Linked DNA regions of Homo sapiens: regions 1 and 2 are each linked to region 3. The links are contacts of gene promoters, found by promoter capture Hi-C in blood cells and fetal thymus (Javierre and others, 2016). All regions are on one chromosome and are shown on one strand. Each heading gives the region's core, a stretch centred on a gene start or on the middle of the fragment in contact. The rest is flanking DNA. Distances are from core to core; before and after follow the strand shown. Region 1 overlaps PCBP2 (poly(rC) binding protein 2). Region 2 holds the start of ATP5MC2 (ATP synthase membrane subunit c locus 2). Region 3 holds the start of ITGB7 (integrin subunit beta 7).

Region 1 (3,388 bases), core at 545-3,044, 270 kb before region 3:
TAATGTCACGGGTTGGCTGAGATATACCTAATGTCACAGAAAGAGGCATAATGCTAATTCAGAGGAATGCAGACAGAAGCTGCCTAATTTTATTAGACTTATCCCACTTTGCCCCTCCCCTTCATTCTGGGTAAAGAAGTATGTTCTTTGAATGTATGACTTGGAAGAGATCCTCATGGTAACCATTCACCAGAGGAATCCTGGGATGAACACCTTGTTAGCTGCTGCTGGCAAGGTAAGGCCATCTGAGAAGTCAGATAAACTTCCTCACTAGTGAAGCTTGTTGCCAATTACAGAGGACCTTCAGGATCTAAACTGCCACAGACTCGTTATCTCTTTGTGGAAATATTGACAAACGACTATAAAATTCACTTGGGATTCAAAAAGCCCATGTCAGTTATACAGGCTTCCTAGCTGAATAGCCACAAGTCACAAGCCCCCAACCCTTTACCCTTCACAGCACACAGTGTACTAAGGTTCTTACTGCGCCAACTTTATTACAGCTAGAAACACAAATATGGCCAAGAAGGCCTGCTGATAGCTTAACCATTAAATAATTCTTAAAAAAAAAAAAAAAAGTTAACGAAGCAGCTTTTATTCATTAACACAGAGCCTAACACATTGTTATATTGCAAGGCAGAATAAAGCTACAAAGAAAAGTAACAAACAAGAAAGAAGAGAAAACTGTGGCTCTAGATAAAGAATTCAAGTCAGACCCTGAAACAGGCACTCAGCTGAAATGGCCTAAACCTAAACAAGGGTTACCACTCCCCCACCCCCACCCAGTTATCCCCCAAAGTAGTAAAAAGGAAACGGTAACAAGCTCACAATAGTTTCATTCTCACCAATGTTAACAAAGGAAAACAAAATGAACAAAATAATACTGGAGGAGGTGCCTCAAGGTATGCAATCAGTAGGGAGAGAATCTCTGTTTCTCGCCTTTCAGTTTGTTAGTTACACATGGCACGGCAGAGGTGGTGGTGGTGGTAGCTGAAGCCCCGGTACCCTTAGCAGCAGACACAACATTTAGAGCCAGGAGAGGGATGGGTTTCATGCCAAGCAGACTGGAGACACAAGGGGCGGTCGGAAGAGGGTTGGGGAGGCTGGAGGGTGCGTCGGAGGTCCCCGCTGTGGCGAGCGAGGGGGTGGTGGTGGAGGAGGAAGAAGAAGAAGGGGTGGAGGGTTGAGAGAGGTTGATGCTGAGGTGATCAGGGATCGTGACGGAGGCTGCCTGGGAGGAGGGTTTAGCGTTTTCTAAACTGTAACAGAGGAAAAAAGGAACAAAAAAAAAGGGTGGGTGGAAGGGAAGACCACAAAAGGGAGTAAGTACAGGACAAAAACTGCTTCAGTTATATCAGTAAGTGCCTCTGGTTGACAATTAGGAAGACCTAGTGTCAACTTGTGACAAGCTTTCTTTTAGCCTATGTCCCACCCTCTAAATATGTATATTTCCATTCCACAGAGCTACTTAAAAACTGCTATGGTGAAGAAAAAGCTGACAGAGAAAAGAAATCATAGGGCACATACTTCATGTATCTGACACACTGACCCAACCCAGATGTTGAAGGAATGATTTCGGGTAGAAAAAGATACTCATCAATCACCCAACAAGGAAGAAATGTTTCCTCTAATCAAATGTCAATTTCCTATTCTAACAGAAAATCAATTATCCCACAATTACTTGTGAAGCTTTGAATATTTATAAAGCAGAATTTTTAAAAATCCTTCCAGCTATGTATTAAAGTCTGCTTACATCTCCACAGCAAACAAACCAGTATCAGGGTGGAAAGAGACAAGAGTCCAAAGTAGGTCACTGACTAATTTCAAATTTCAAAGAATGTAGCGTTTTCAAAGAAAAATGCTGAGAACAGAAGTGTAGATAAGAACTAGGGAAGCTTTTCTGGTGGGAGGTGGTATAAAAAGTTGTTTCTGACTGATCATACTTCTAATGTGGACCTTTCAGAAGTGGAAAAGAGAAACTCAAGTATCACCTAAAAATTCATACTTAAGCGAAAATGCTGCTGCTTCCACTCCCAAAATAAGCTCCACAGAACAGTAAGGGTACATGTCTCCCAAATGCCTGTATGTGTCTAAGCCAGAACTACATATATTTGGGAAGTGTGCCTGGACAATTGAGCCCACAACGCTAAGTCTTCAAGAGCAGAAAGGCTCCTCTTAAAACCTCATTTTATTTACCTATGTCCAAGGACAGCTGCAATCCATAAAGGAAAGGGATACAGAAGTCAACTAACTATATAAAAGGACAGACTGCCACCATGAAAAATCAAGAGACAGGAGAAAATGCTCAGAATCCAGTAAAATCCTTCTTGACTTAAAAAAAATGAGAAAGGAAAAAAAAAAAAACCCTTTGACTTCTGCATTTAAACTGCACCAAGTTGAGAAAGAATAAGCTTTGTGCATGCATAATCTTTGCTTTGGTGTTAGATGAAGCTTTGAAAAGTTTTGACCCTAATCCATGGCTAAGATACCGAATTGCTATTCAGTAACAATGATCCTGAAAAGAGCCACTCTACCAAGAGAATTCTGCTTCCTTACAATGTAGCCACTGACCTATTGCAGGAGCTAGGCAAGCAGGTCACATTTAAACAGTCACAATTTAAATTACATGAAGGGCAAGCCTATCGAAAGAACAAAACAAATTCCAGCTTTCAAAAACCTGATTCTTGCCACTGAAAACTGAAAACTTCTTGCCCTCCAAAATCCTAATTACAAATAAGAAAAACAAGCTGGGCATAGTGGCTCACGCCTGTAATCCCAGCACTTTGGGAGGCCGAGGCAGGTGGATGACAAGGTCAAAAGATCGAGGCCATCCTTGCCAACATGGTGAAACCCCGTCTATACTAAAAATACAAAAATTAGCTGGACGTGGTGGCACGTGCCTGTAAGTCCCAGCTACTTGGGAGGCTGAGGCAGGAGAATCACTTGAGCCCAGGAGGCAGAGGTTGCAGTGAGCCGAGATGGAGCCACTGCACTCCAGCCTGGTGACAGAGCAAGACTCCGTCTCAAAAAAAAAAAAAAGAAAGAAAAACAATTCTTGTAATCCCAGCACTTTGGGAGGCATATCACTTGAGGTCAGGAGTTGGAGACGAGCCTGACCAACATGAAACCCTATCTCTAAAAAAGAAAAAGACCTCTTTGCAAACAACCTTGGTGCAAAAGTTTACTACTACCATTTCATTCTCAACATTAAGGACCTAGTGTGCTTGGTGGGTGGACAAGAAAACAAATCTAGGAAAGGGAAAGCTTTTCTACACAAAGAGTAGTAGCACCTCAAGATATGAAGTCTTAAGGCAAAAGTCAGACTGCTACTGGGGAAATGGTATGTTCTTAGCTAGCACTAAATAACCATAGCATATATACATGGTCA
Region 2 (3,657 bases), core at 39-2,538, 470 kb before region 3:
CGGGAAATTGCTCCGTGGGCTTTCAGCGGCGGTTTTTATCGCCGGCCGGGGTGTGCCTGTCTGCGGCTCGCCTCTCCTCCGGGACCGTAAAGCTGCTGCCGTGATTTATCCTCCCCTTCTCCCAAATCCGATTAAATGGAGGAGCTCGGGGCCGGGGCGCCGCGGGGCCCGGGAGCCGGGAGGGGGCGGCGGGAAGGACGGGGCCAAGGAGGGGAGGACAAACGGCCCCTCAGAGAGTGGCGGATTTGCCTTTATTTACAGCCGCGGCTTTCTTTTTATTTTTTATTTTTTATGGGGTTTGGTGAGCTTTTCCCGTCTTTCTCGTGCTGCGTTCAAGCACGATGCAGGGACGGCAGGGGTTTGGAACTGGATAGGCCTTGTCGCCCTGTTCCAAAGGGCAGGGCAGGTCCTGTCTGGGAGACAAGGAGGCCTAGGAAAGATGAGGGCCAGGAAGCCTCCCCCACCTCCTTCCATCAGGGGAAGGGCGAGCGAAAGGGGAGAGAAAACCCACGTTCAGGAGAGCATGGGGGCGGGAGGGGAGGGCGCTGCTTATCCCAACTCGCGTAGTTGAAACCTGAGCAGAGGCTCGGGCAAGCCTGGAGTGACCTCGCAACCTTACAGCGGGTCGCAGGTGCCCGTTATTCCTAGACTGTCCCAGGAGCCAGGAAAGAGGGATTCGGATCATATTTAACCCTATCTTCTGGCTCGCTGATGCTGCTTCTCTCATGGTTTATCACCGGAATGGAAAGGAGGAAACGGGGAGTGGGGGAAAGGGCGAAGCCACCAGAAGCAGCTGCGGCATTTTGCTGACTATTCGCCCATGGAGCCGGTTTGCCATCCAGTGATGCCAGAGTCCCGGCGCGACAGAAAGCAGGACTCCCAAGATCTTCCTCCTGCTGCATTTTAGGCACTGAACCCCAATCCCGACCGTATGTTAACACTGAATTCTGAGTAGGAGTTTTGTTTTGGCAGTGTGACGACTGCGCATGCTCGGAAAGGGGACGCAAGTCCGAGATCCCAAACGCGGTACAGACCAAACCGCAGTCCACGTTACGGATCGGCTTACTCCGCGGAGTTGGCCTCATTTCTGCAGTCGGCGCTCCCTGTAGTTTCTCCTCTCGAACGCCAGGTGGAGCAACCGGCCGGATACCGCCACAGCCCTGGCAGGCGGCGCTGTGATGCCTGAGCTGATCCTGTATGTTGCAATCACTCTATCCGTGGCTGAGCGACTCGTTGGCCCGGGTCACGCATGCGCTGAGCCTTCCTTTCGCTCTTCCCGCTGCTCCGCCCCTCTCTGTCTTCTCTGCAGTGGGAGCAGGTAAGGCCTTGGGACCTAGAGCCCTCTGTGCGCTGCGCACGCGCGCGGGACACCTCACCTTGCGCGGATGCTTTGAGGCGCTTACCTTGCGTGCTCCCACCCTGGTCCTCTCGCCCTTTCTTGCTTCCGCTATCCCTTAGCCTTAGAGTTGGCTCTTCCGCGTGCCGGTGACCTCCAACCGCGCGGGCCTGGCGCCATCTTGGATGTCTCGCAGGGGGAGGATACCTTGGAGCTGGCCAAAGTTAGATCCTGGAGTGCTGCTTTTCACCTGTTCCACCCAGTCCCTGCAAACACTCTTTTCTCGCCCTCTGGCCCTTTCAGATTGTGACAACCCCCAGGCTCTCCCCTCCTATCTCTGCTTTCTCTTCTCATCCTGACTTGTGCCTTCTTTATTCTGAAATCTCCAGACTTTAGGCCCCAGAACCTCAGGTGCTCCGAGCAATGGAGATAGTGGATCGTCTAAAGTCACCAATCCCTCTAGTCAGCACCCCTCAATTTAAAAAGTAAACCTTGAACATGGTAGAAGTGGGAAAAAAAGCCAAAACATCGCCTCCCGTTAGGTTGTGGCTTGGGATAGCTAAGGCAGAAGAGAGAGGCTGGTTGCTTTGGAATCACTAGTTATTTACCAGTACCTTTCTCGCATCCCGGCACGCTGGTGAAGTTGTAAAAGTCACAAATGGTGGGCTAGAGATGAGGGTTTCTGTTGAGGCAGCAGGCCCAGAAAGGTGGGGTAAGGCCAAGCTAGTGGGGCCAGCATGAGACCCTGCCTGCCAGCTTTCCTGTGAAGGATTAATTAACCTCCCCAGATTCTGCTGTTACAAGGAAAAGAAGGTTTAAGGAAAGGAATAGTTAAGTTACTACCCCTGTGACTCATCTACACTGAGGAAAAAGCCCGTGATGATTTTGGAGTCCTGATTCTGGATAGTGCCTTTGCCCAAGTTGTAGGCTAACAATTGCAGAGTTGCCATGGTTAGATAGCCAATGGTGGGATCACTTAATTGCCACCCCTTGTTGTGGGTTTATTATATGCCAGCACCACATTAAACTCTTTATGTATGTTAATTTGTAAATGAACATACTTAATCCCCCTAAGAGCTGCATTTTACAAAGAAGATAATAAGGTATAATTCCCTTAGAAAAGAACCACCCCTTCTTTTTCTAAAAGCCTTAAAGAACTATTGGATTTTGACCCAAGAAAACCTGAATAGTACGGCAGCAAAATTGGGTTAGAGTTACATATAGGCAAAAATCAGAGTTCTAGATAGGACAAGAGTTGAAGACATCCATTAACTTAAAAGTAATTAAGGCTGGGTGTGGTGGCTCACACCTGTAATCCCAACACTGGGAGGCCAAGGTGGGAAGATCTTTTGATGCCAGGAGTTCCACAATAGCCTGGGCAAAAAATAAATTAAGAGCAATTAAGATGTTGGATTCAGAAGTGTTTTAACCTGGGACAATCTGAGTTCAGTTCATTTAATGAAGTGGTATTTAATAGCCCTAAGCATTCACTGAGTATTTCAGCCTGTGACATATTAGAAAGCATGTAACTTAAAAGATCCAAGTTCAAGTCTATCCTCTACCACTACCACAGTTTCAAGACTGGGTTTAGGGTCACGCTCTTGCGTTAAGTATACCTAATAATCATCTGGGAAACTTGTTTGAAATACAGGGCACTTGAGCCTTATTCCCAGAGATCTTTTTTGTTTGTTTATAGACAGGGTTTCACGTTGTTGCCCATACTGGACAACTGGCGTGATCATAGCTCACTGAAGCCTCCAGCTCCTGGGTTCAAGCAGTCCTCCTGCCTCAGCTTCTGGAGTAGCTGGGACTACAGGTGCACTTCCACCTCACCTGGCTAATTTTATGTTTTGTAGAGATGAGGTCTTGATGTTTGCCCAGGCTGGTCTCAAACTCCTGGCTTCAAGTTATCTTTCCGCCCCAGCTTCTCAGTGTTGGGATTACAGGAATGAGCCACTGAACCTAGCTCCCCCAGAGATCTTGACCAGGAAGGTCCAAGTTGCGCCCAAGAATATGCATTTTTTAATACGTACACCACCCAGATAATTCTAGTTCAGATGGGCTTCTCACTTCACTTGGAGAAACCCTGCCTTTAGGTTTTTAACTCACCTTCTGTTTGAGGTAAGTTCACTTCTACCAACTTAGATACCTATAGGGTGTCAGATCTTCTTTAGATCTTGGGGAGACACAATTTAATACTTTTTTTTTTTTTTTTGAGACAGTTTCCCTCTTGTTGCCCAGGCTGGAGTACAATGGCGCAATCTTGGCTCACCGTAGCCTCTGCCTCCTGGATTCAAGCAATTCTCCTGCCTCAGCCTCCT
Region 3 (3,172 bases), core at 540-3,039:
GAAGGGTATAGGTCCTGGCTATCCCATAGCCTGAGGCCAGCCAAGCCCACCCAGAGAAAGAGCCCCTCCTCTCCAATTGTCCCCTCCTAGCAGCTACACCTCTGCAATCCATCTGACATTTATTGAGCACCTACTATAAGATGGGCACTTGGCTAGGTGTGGTGGCTCCAGCAGGGAAGCCTTGTAGAGCCAGTCCCTGCCTACAAGGAGTGCTCCTTCTGGTAGGGGAGATCGACCTGTGAACACAGACCTCATGTCTAGTTCCCTCTCAAAGCTCTTAGTGATCTGTATGGGCCAGGAGCAAATCCCATTAATATTTTCCTGCTCTCCCTACGGGCTTCATCCTTGCCTTGGCTTCAGCTGTTGTTCCTGCACTCTCTGCTTCTCCCAGTTCACCTCCTCCACCCCTTTCCCAGGATCCACTACTGTGTTGGCTCCTGGTTCCCCAATCACATGCTCTGAGCCTGGCCCTATGCCTCTCTCTTCCAAGTTTCCAGTTGTGTGGACCTTGAATTTCTCAAAGCCTCTTCACTTCTCACCTCTGCTACTTCTCATCCCTACTAATTCTCTTATCAAGCCCTTACTTAGTATGTGCCAGGTAGTCTTGTAGGCAATTGATATGAATTATCTCTTTTAATTCTCACGACAATCCTGTGAGTCTTGCTGGACAGATGAGAAAACAGCTGCAGGCAGGTTTAAGTAACTCAGCTAAGCTCCTTACTACTAGTAAGTAGTAGAGCCAGGATTTGAACTCTAGCAACTTGGCTCCAGAGCCTATGTAGTCAAGCACACTTATATAATGTATCCTGGGTTTTCAAAATGAACAAGTCTGTAATTTCTGGCCTCTCTACAGTACTTACTGCCCCTATTCCCTCCTATCATGTTCCTTCCTATATAAGTAAATGGAGAGATCATGAATTTTGGAGGCAGGCAGACCTGGATTTAAATCCCAGACCAGCCGAGTGTGCCTGTAATCCCAGCTACTCAGGAGGCCAAAGTGGGAGGATTGCTTGAGTCCAGGAGTTACAGACCAGCCTGGGCAACACAGCAAGACCCTGTCTCAAAAATAAAAAACAGGCTGGGCATGGTGGCCCACACCTGTAATCCCAGCACTTTGGGAGGCCGAGGTGGGCAGATCAATTGAGGTCAAGAGTTTGAGACCAGCCTGGCCAACATGGTGAAACCCCGTCTCTATTAAGAATATAAAACGTTGCTGGGCATGGTAGTGCACCCCTGTAATCCCAGCTATTCGGGAGGCTGAGGCAGGAGAATCGCTTGAACCTGGGAGGCGGAGTTTGCAGTGAGCTGAGATTGTGCCATGGGACAGTGAGCTGAGATTGTGCCTGGGAAACAGAGCAAGACCCTGTCTCAAAAGTTAAATTAAATTAAAATAAAAAAAATAAAATAATAAAAATTTAAAATAAAAATCTTTTTTCTTTTTTTTTTTTAAATCCTAGACTAGCTACTTACTAGCTGTGGGACCTTGGGCAAAATTCTTTATTTCCTGCTTCCAAGCCTCAATCTCTGCATCTGTAAAATTGGGGCTTGGGGGAATATTAACCCCTATCTTATGAGATTGTTGTGAGGGTTAATTGTAATATGTTACGTTCAACACATGACAGGGGTTCAATAAATGGGCTTCTTTCTTCCAGATCTCTGTATTGTCCACTCCCTTGGCTCAGCCCCACCCCTATCTGCACCACCTTCTAGATCAGTCACCCCCACCAACCCCAAATCTTCCCCACCCTGGGGAGTGTCACTTCCTCCTCTGCCGTCTCCCAGATCAGTACACAAAGGCTGCTGCTGCCGCCAGAGGAAGGACTGCTCTGCACGCACCTGTGAGTACCAGGGCACCAGCCCTTCTGCCTCCTCTCCTTACAAGCTCTGGCCCACCTGGTCCCAACCTCTTGGGAAGAGGGCTCTGACCTGGATACCGAGGGTCCTGTCCAGACTTGAGAAAGGCTCTGAACTCCTTTCTGCATTCCTAAGATCCCCTGACCTGGTTCCCTCCTCCAGTTTCACAGTACCCCCACCTCCACCTCTCCAAAAGCCCAATCTCTCCTGCATCAGTTTCCCATGAGTGGGTCTGGAGGCAGGGATGTATATGAGTGCTGTCATCTGAGTGCCTGCCATGTGCCAAGGACTATACCGAAGTAGGGCAGGTATACCGATTATACTGAGGGAGGGTTCTTCCAACATCACCCCCAGCTGCTATCCCTAATGCTCTGCCTTCAGCTCAGACTTCTTCCTAATCGGCACCTTGGTCACAGACTCCACTGTCCTGGGACACTGAGGCCCAGCAGCTCAGTTCCGTCCCCTCCTTGTGACTCCCAGTGGGCAGCAGAGGGTTCTGCTTGATTTGGAAGGTAGGGATGGGTTTGGAAGAGGCTCTGTTTCTCAGCTGCTGAGGGGGGTCACAGGGTGTGTACTGGAGTCAGAATGGAGTCCAGAAAAATGGAAATAACCACTTGGTCCCAGAGAGAGAAGGGAAGACTGCAGAATACCCCTAAGGAAAGAGAAATGGGATTAGGCAGAGCCCACCAGGGCTAGTGGGGAGAGAACACAACTTTTGATGGAGATAGTGCCTGGGTTGGAGGGAGGAAAGGAGAAAGCACAGCAGAGGCCTGGCCCTGCCCTGTCCTGCCCTGCCCCTAGTTCACTGGGTGACCCTGGCCTCATGGAATTTAGGTTTCCATTTGTAAAAAGAGTGGGATGGAGTAGTAGATTCAGCCATTCTATAGTTAGGAACAGAGGGGAAAAGGAAGTAAAATAGCCCTATGAAGAAGTGGAGCAGAGAAAAGCAGCAGAGAGATGCAATAGAAGTTTTGAAATGAAAGGAGCCAGAGAGAGACAGAGAAGCAGACAGAGAAATAGGTGGCAGAACATGTATTCTCAAGGAGGGGAGAAGAGAGGATAATTGGAAAGAAAGGTAGGAAAGGGCTGTCCAGGAAGTCCCAGGGCCCCCTTTAAGGGGAGATGAGTGGGCCTAAGGTCTCTGAAAAACCTATGCGGCAGCCGGGGCTCCACTTGTGAGAGATGAGTCAAAACCCGGCTTTGGGTTGCAGCATCTCCAGCCTCCCTGACCACAGGCATGCAGAGCAAGCAGGGCTGAGGTTACGCTGAGGCTGAGCTGGGACTGGCCTCTCCCCGAGGGGTGGAGGCTCCGTTATAT

Evidence for each region. Contacts are between HindIII fragments. The CHiCAGO score rates a contact against its expected background, and 5 or more counts as called.
Region 1: a fragment that was not itself captured here is called in contact with the fragment with the promoter of ITGB7 in region 3 in 2 of 17 cell types (fetal thymus and total B cells); the score reaches 5.6 in fetal thymus.
Region 2: a contact is called between the fragment with the promoter of ATP5MC2 here and the fragment with the promoter of ITGB7 in region 3, in 1 of 17 cell types (neutrophils). The highest score is 6.0, in neutrophils.

Annotation. Positions count from the first base shown.
Region 1 is chr12:53,472,740-53,476,127 of GRCh38, reverse strand. The region is part of intron 14 of PCBP2 (poly(rC) binding protein 2); the gene reads right to left. Among named protein-coding and RNA genes, the nearest start is that of PCBP2-OT1, 10 kb to the right of the region's middle. The HindIII fragment of the contact is 206 bases long and covers 1,692-1,897 here.
Region 2 is chr12:53,673,714-53,677,370 of GRCh38, reverse strand. It overlaps ATP5MC2 (ATP synthase membrane subunit c locus 2), which reads left to right and starts at 1,288. Exons shown (of 5, transcript NM_005176.7): 1 at 1,288-1,318. RefSeq lists enhancers at 797-1,026, 1,137-1,586. The HindIII fragment of the contact is 5,549 bases long and covers 1-3,657 here.
Region 3 is chr12:53,205,868-53,209,039 of GRCh38, reverse strand. ITGB7 (integrin subunit beta 7) reads left to right here and starts at 1,789. Exons shown (of 16, transcript NM_000889.3): 1 at 1,789-1,838. The HindIII fragment of the contact is 16,923 bases long and covers 1-3,172 here.